2 separate regions of the Homo sapiens genome follow, and region 2 is linked to region 1. Evidence: promoter capture Hi-C in human tissues and cell types (Jung and others, 2019). All regions are on one chromosome and are shown on one strand. The core of a region is centred on a gene start or on the middle of the fragment in contact, and the rest is flanking DNA. Distances in the headings are between cores, read along the strand shown.

Evidence for each region. The method cuts DNA at HindIII sites, captures the fragments that hold promoters and counts their contacts. A contact is called where the count stands out against the background at its distance.
Region 2: a fragment that was not itself captured here is called in contact with the fragment with the promoter of WDR87 in region 1 in 1 of the 25 tissues and cell types used here (dorsolateral prefrontal cortex).

What each region holds. Positions count from the first base shown.
Region 1 is chr19:37,904,850-37,908,462 of GRCh38, reverse strand. WDR87 (WD repeat domain 87) reads left to right here and starts at 1,869. Exons shown (of 6, transcript NM_001291088.2): 1 at 1,869-1,964. SIPA1L3 (signal induced proliferation associated 1 like 3) reads right to left here and starts at 1,255. Exons shown (of 22, transcript NM_015073.3): 1 at 1,105-1,255. RefSeq lists an enhancer at 544-603 and a silencer at 904-1,143. The HindIII fragment of the contact is 24,391 bases long and covers 1-3,613 here.
Region 2 is chr19:38,935,274-38,938,886 of GRCh38, reverse strand. LOC124904713 (a long non-coding RNA gene) reads left to right here. Exons shown (of 2, transcript XR_007067253.1): 2 at 2,035-3,613. Among named protein-coding and RNA genes, the nearest start is that of MRPS12, 6.1 kb to the right of the region's middle. The HindIII fragment of the contact is 4,061 bases long and covers 1-3,613 here.

The sequences.
Region 1 (3,613 bases), core at 620-3,119:
CAAATGTGTGGGGGAGCTCAGGGCTGTCATGTCACAGCCCACAGTCAGGCAGTCTCTGGGCCAGATGGAGAATATTGAAGAACAATTATAATACATAAGAGCTGCTACTTAGTGAGAGATGGCGCTGGACTAGAAATACAATCTCAGCAAATCCTTACAACCCTTTGAGAGTGATCTTGTTATTATCCCATTTTGTAAATGAGGAACCTGAGGTAGTAGGAAGGGAAGTCAACTGGACCAGTTCTGAATCTGGCCCTCGGGGGTGACCAATACTACGGCCAGAGCCCCACCCTCAGAGGGTCTCTGGGCCACTAGGAAAACGCTGAATAAATGGTACCATTTACTGAGCGTTATATGCCAGCTGCTGTGCTAAGCACTTTACACATGGTATTCTCACTGCATCCTGAAAACAACTCGACGAAGTGGTTGCTATTTAAATCCCCATTTTATAGATAGGGAAACCAAGGCACAGAGAGGTGAAGCCAGTTGCCCAAAGTCACACAGCTGGTAAATGTTCAAATTTGAACCTGGGGTCTCTCTGCCTTCCAAACCAACGCTCTTAACAAAATAATCTCGGTTAACAGCAGCTAGCCTGCATTGGGTGCTAACTAAGGACTCACCTCTTTACATGCACACGCTCAACTAATCCTCACCCTATGCAATCGATAACATCTTCACCTCATTTTTCGGAGAGCTAACAATAACCCAAATACGTAGTAAGTGCCTCCTATGTGCCAAATGTTTTATTATATTATCTCAACAGAGTCTCCGCCAAGATGCTCTCCTACTCCGTTTTACTGCAGGGGAAATTGAGGTTCGGCGCGGTTTTCCCAGATCGCGGCTCCCGAGTGGCACAGCCGGGACGCGAATCCACCGCTCCCCGCCTCCAAGCTCTTCACCACAGCGCCGGGGTGCACGCCTGGAAAGTTGAGCCATGCGGGCACGAGTCCGGCTGGGTCCGGAGGGCGCGAGTCCCGGCGCCGCCGCCCCCCACGGCCAGTACCCACACCCGGCCGTCCGCCCGCGCTGACCCTCGGGGTCCGGGCAGCCACCGATTCCCCGCCACCCTTGCGCGAGGCCGATCCTGCACCCGGAGCCACGTACCTGGACGCCCCGGCTGCCCGCCTCGCGGGCCCCACGATCGCGGCGTCCAGCTCCGCGCCGCTCGCTGGAGACGCCGCCAGCTCCGGTGGCCCGAGTGACTTCCAGGCTGCCCACTTCCAAGCCGCTTCGCGCGAGTCCTCCTGGGAACTGTAGTTTCGCCCTAGCCGGCCGCGAACTCAAAAAGAGAATGGCGCGCGGGGGCTGCCGGGAGCCGTAGGCGCACCGCCGCGCTGCCTCCTAGGAACGGTAGTCCGCTGGTCGCCTTCGTGCAGCTCCAGTCTGTAGAGCACTTCCGCAGCCCCGAGGGGCGTGAGGGAGGGAGGTGTGTCTCCTGCAGACTACAGCTCGAGAGCCGCGCTCTTCGCCCCGCCGGGGCGGTTTCTCCTTTCTCCTGGCCCCGTCTACCTCCTCCCTTCATTCGGCGGAACCTCTCCCTCACTCTCTGCCAGGCTCGAGTCACTTACCCCTAGGACGCTAGCCCGGGGGAAACGGGGGAAGCGGAGCAGTGCGCTAGACCCCCAGCGGAGGGGGCGGTGGAGGAGGGCGTAGATGCACGCCCGCGCACGCGCGGTCGTCGGCAGACCCCGGCCTAAATTGCCGCGGGACCCCGCGGAGAGGATTTTTTTTTTTTTTCTTTCGAGAGCGCGCGCGCGTTCTCGCGCCGGGCGCGCGCCCATGCGCACGCGCGTTCAGACCCCTGGCCTCGGGAAGTCCGCCGGCTGCGGGGTTGGGGGCCAACCGTTCTGTGGGCGGAGTCCTCTCGCAACATCCGCCAGGTAGCTTCTTAGTTGCTGCCCCTAGCTCTAGGAGCTCCTGAGTGCACACGCCGTACCCGTCCCTTGTCGGGAATCCTGTCGCAGGTAACAGGCGCAGCCAATGCTTTGAGATAGAGACGCCCTGCCTTCCCTGCCACGTGCAGGAGGCCCGAGGGTGAGGGGCCCCAGGTGTAGTCGCCTGTCCCCGGCGTAGGCGGCTCCAGAGCTCTGCCTTCGACGGGAGCCACAAGACCCAGGGGCTGCCTAGGGGCCTTGTTATCTTGCATTCTTTTGTTGATCGCACATTCCTGAGGGTAACTAGTGTTTGTAGAGTACCTACACCTTGGGAAATTTTGTCCAAATTTAATCCACCTGGTGACATAACCAAGCAGCGGAATACCCCGCAACACACACTCCTTTTTTAAGGTATATTGCCACTCCTCCATAAGAGTTACCGAGGGAATTGACTGGAATTGCAAGGTCCTCTGGTGGAGAAGCCGGAGTCAATACCCTTTCCGCCTCAGCCTGCCTTCTAGGAAGATGTTCACTAACACTTGAAGCTGGGAAGCATATGTTTCTTCCTGGGAGAGCACATTTTTCCACTCATTCAACAAAAATGGATTAACCACCTATTCCATGTCAGGTTGGGTGATTATGGAGACACAAGAGAAATCCAGACAGACTGGACTCCTACCTTCAGGGAGTTTTCAGTCCAGTAGGGATATCAGGCCACCACCAGACTACAACAATGTAGAGCAATACTAGCTAAGAGAAATATACCCTGCACTTTGAGCCACCGAGGCAGGAGGATCACTTAAGGCCAGGAGTTGGAGACTGGCCGGGTAACATAGCAAGACCCTATCTCTACTAAAACTAAAAAACTAGCTAGGCGTGGTGGCATGTGGCCATAGTCCCAGCTATTTAAGAGGCTGAGTATCGCTTAAGCCCAGGAGTTTGAGACTGCAGTGAACCATGATTGCACCACTGCCCTCCAGCTTGGGCGACAAAGCAGAACCCTGTCTCTTTAAAAAAAAAAAAAATTATATATGTGTGTGTTTTTATGTGTAATGCAAGCCACATATGCAATTTTAATTTTGACATAAACAGGTAAAATTCATTTTATTTATCATTATTATTTACTTTTTTTTTTCTTGCTATGTTGCCCAGGCTGGTATTGAACTCCTGGCCTCAAGACATGTTCCTACCTCAGCCTCGCAAAGTGCTGGGATTATAGGCGTGAGCCATCTCACCCAGCTATGAAATTAATTTTAATATTTTATTTAACCCAAATATATCCAAAATATTATTCCAAGTTAGGTTAATGGAAAAATGTTTTCATTGCTTCAGTTCTACTTTTTTTTTTTTTTTTTTTGGAGACGGAGTCCCACTCTGTCGCCAGGCTGGAGTGCAGTGGCGCCACCTCGGCTCCCTGCAACCTCTGACTCCCTGGTTCAAGTGACTCTCCTGCCTCAGCCTCCCAAGTAGCTGGGATTACAGGCAGGCGCCATCACACCCAGCTAATTTTTGTATTTTTAGTAGAGACTGGGTTTCACCATGTTAGCCAGGATGGTCTCGATCTCCTGACGTGATCTGCCAGCCTCGGCCTCCCAAAATGCTGGGATTACAGGCGTGAGCCACCATGCCTGGCCTCAGTTCTACAATTTAAGTTAATTAAAATCAAATAAAATTAAAATGTTATGAGGCACTAACAAAGATACTCATTTGCGGCATTAGCTGCAGTAGCAAAAGGTTGG
Region 2 (3,613 bases), core at 493-2,992, 1.0 Mb before region 1:
AGAGAAACTGAAGGCTTTAGAGGAATTAGTTACTGAATAATTAGAAAACGGACACATAGCTCCAACATTTTCCCCTTGGAATTCTCCAGTTTTCGTAATTAAGAAAAGAATCAGATAAACGGAGAATGTTAACTGACTTAAGAGCCATTAATTCAGTTATACAACCCATGGGTACATTACAGCCAGGATTGCCTTCTCCTGCTATGATTCCAAAAAATTGGCCTTTAATAGTCATAGATTTAAAAGACTGTTTCTTTACTATCCCCTTAGCTGAGCAAGACTGTGAACAGTTTGCATTTACAATTCCTGCAGTAAACAACCTGCAGCCTGCTAAGCGTTTTCACTGGAAAGTATTGCCACAAGGCATGTTAAACAGCCCAACAATTTGCCAGACTTATGTAGGGCAAGCAATTGAACCTACTCGTTAAAAGTTTTCACAGTGTTACATTATTCATTATATGGATGATATACTTTGTGCTGCCCCCACTCGAGAAGTATTACTCCAATGTTATGATCACTTACAAAATTCGATTTCTTGCGCTGGTTTAATTATAGCTCCTGACAAAATTCAGACTACTACTCCTTACTCCTACTTGGGGACCTTAGTAAATGACACTACCATTGTGCCACAGAAAGCAACCATACATAGGAATCAATTGAAAACATTAAAGGACTTTCAAAAATTACTAGGGGACATTAATTGGATACGACCTGCTCTAGGCATTCCTACCTATGCCATGAGTAATCTATTTTCTATCCTTAGAGGAGATCCTGGTCTCACAAGCCCTCGGTAATTAACAAGAGAAGCTGAGGCAGAGCTGCGGCTAATCGAAAAGCAAGTCCATAAAGCTCAAATAAATAGATTAGATCCAGAGAAGACTCTAGATTTGCTAATTTTTCCAACTCAGCATTCACCTACTGGTGTTATTGTTCAAGAGTGAGATCTTGTAGAGTGGCTTTTTCTTCCACATACTAATTCACGGACTCTAACTCCTTATTTGGATCAAATTGCTACTATGATAGGAAATGGGAGAACTCGGATTGTTAAATTACATGGATATGATCCTGGAAAAATTATTATCCCTCTCACAAAGGCACAAATACAGCAAGCTTTTATAAATAGTCTTACTTGGCAAACCAATTAAGCTGACTTTGTGGGTATTCTCGATAACCATTTTCCTAAACAAAACTGTTTTAATTTTTGAAATTAACTAATTGGATTCTCCCTAAAATAACTAAATTTAAACCAATTGAAGGTGCTGAAAATGTTTTTACAGATGGGTCTAGTAATGGTAAAGCTTCTTATTCTGGCTCAAAAAGTAAAGTTTTTCAGATGCCCTATACTTCAGCTCAAAAAGTGGAGCCTGTAGCTGTAATTGAGGTAGTGACTGCTTTTCATATGCCTATTAATGTGATTTCTGACTCTTCATACGTGATTCATTCCACACAATTAACTGAAAATGCTCAGTTACAATTTCCTGCAGATGAACAACTGATGATTTTATTTACCCAACTGCAAACAGCAGTTAGGAGTAGAATGCACCCTTTTTACATCACTCACATTAGGGCTCATACACCTCTTCCAGGCGTCACCTTTTGCAGTGTTTTGCAGTGATGGGCATTCCAGCTTCTATTAAAACAGATAAAGCCCCAGGCTACACTAGCCGAGCTCTAGCTACATTTTTCTCTATACGGAATATTAAACACATTACTGGTATCCCATATAATTCTCAAGGACAAGCCATAGTGGAAAGAATGAATCTCTCCCTGAAACAGCAGTTGCAAAAGCAAAAAAAAGGGGGGAAAACAAGGACTACGGGACACCCCATATGCAACTGAATCTAGCATTGTTAACTTTAAATTTTTTGAGCCTGCCTAAAGGCCAGATCCTATCAGTAGCTGAACAGCATCTACAGAAACCAGCTGCAAAGACAGAAGCAGAACAACTAGTTTGGTGGAGAGATCCAATAACAAAAAGTTAGGAAATAGGTAAAATAATAACTTGGGGTAGAGGTTATGCTTGTGTTTCTCCAGGACTGACTCAACAGCCGATTTGGATACCATCAAGACACCTGAAACCTTATCATGAGCCAGATGCTGAGGAAGAGATTCCGGGAGGAAACTGAGGACCCCCCCCACCCCCGGTTGCAGCCATGTCGAGACTGACGCTGAGGAAGACCCCAACTGTCACGAGCAACACCTGTCAAACACAGCCACCCACCTGGAGACAGATCAAGAAGCTGTCACAGATGGTGGAAGAAAACCTGAGGAAAGTGGGACAACCAGTCGCAATGAGTAATTTAATGGTAGCTATGATAGCGATGATCACCACTGCCATGAGTATTCCTTCAATAAGGGCTGACACAGAGGACAATTATACTTATTGGGCATATTTATCAATCTTGGCTGGCAATAATGCCTGGATGTAATCACTCTATGACACAGTTATACAAGCTTTCTGATCTCATAATAAATCTGCTCCTATAATTGAGGCATACTGCCCTCAAAAACATATTTGTAAACAGGATTGGACCCAGTTAGCAAAAATGAACGTACTTGTTTAGGAAGATTGCTTTGCAGAACAGGCAGAGGTGCTGCACAACAATTCCTATGGAATCATTATTAATTGGTCACCTATGGGGATGTTTAGCTTGAACTGCACCTCTCAGTCTGCATGCCATGGCCACACTGTGATCAGCTCATCTGAACAAAATGGTCAGATGATAGAAATGGTAAGAAATACAGCAAGAGTTCCTATTATCTGGAACCATGGCAGTATAGTGGCACCTCAGCCTCAAATGATATGGCCTGCTCTAGGAGCTAAACATAAGCATTTGTGGAAACTGTTAATAGCTCTTAATAAAATCAAAATTTGGGAAAGAATAAAAAAGCATCTAGAAGGCCACTCTACAAACTTGTATTTGGATATTGCAAAATTGAAAGAACAAATATTTAAAGTATCCCAGGCACACGTGAACTTAATGCCAGGAACTGGAGTGCTTGAAGGAGCTGCAGACAGATTAGCAGCTAGTAACCCATTCAAATGGATAAAAACACTTGGAGGCTCTGTGATTTCAATGATGATTGTGCTTTTACTCTGTGTTGTTTGTCTTTGTATAGTGTGCAGATGCGGATCCTGACTCCTGTGAGAAGTAGCTCACCGTGACAAAGCTGCCTTTGCTTTTATCACTTTGCAAAACAAAAAAGGGGACATGTTGGGAACAGGCCCCTGAATCTGGCCATAAACTGGCCCCAAAACTGGCCATAAACAAAATCTCTGCAGCACTGTGACATGTTCATGATGGCCATGACCCCCACCCTGAAGGTCGTGGGTTTACTGGAATGAGGGCAAGGAACACCTGGCTCACCCAGGATGGAAAACGGCTTAAAGGGGTTCCTGTACCACAAACAATAGCATGAGCGATCTGTGCCTTAAGGACATGTTCCTGCTGCAGATAACTAGCCAGAGCCCATCCGTTTATTTTGGCACATCCCTTTATTTCCCATAAGAAATGCTTTTAGTTAATCTATAATCTATAGAAATAATGCTTATCACTGGCTTGCTGTCAATAAATATGTGTGTAAATCTCTGTTCGAGGCTCTCAGCTCTGAA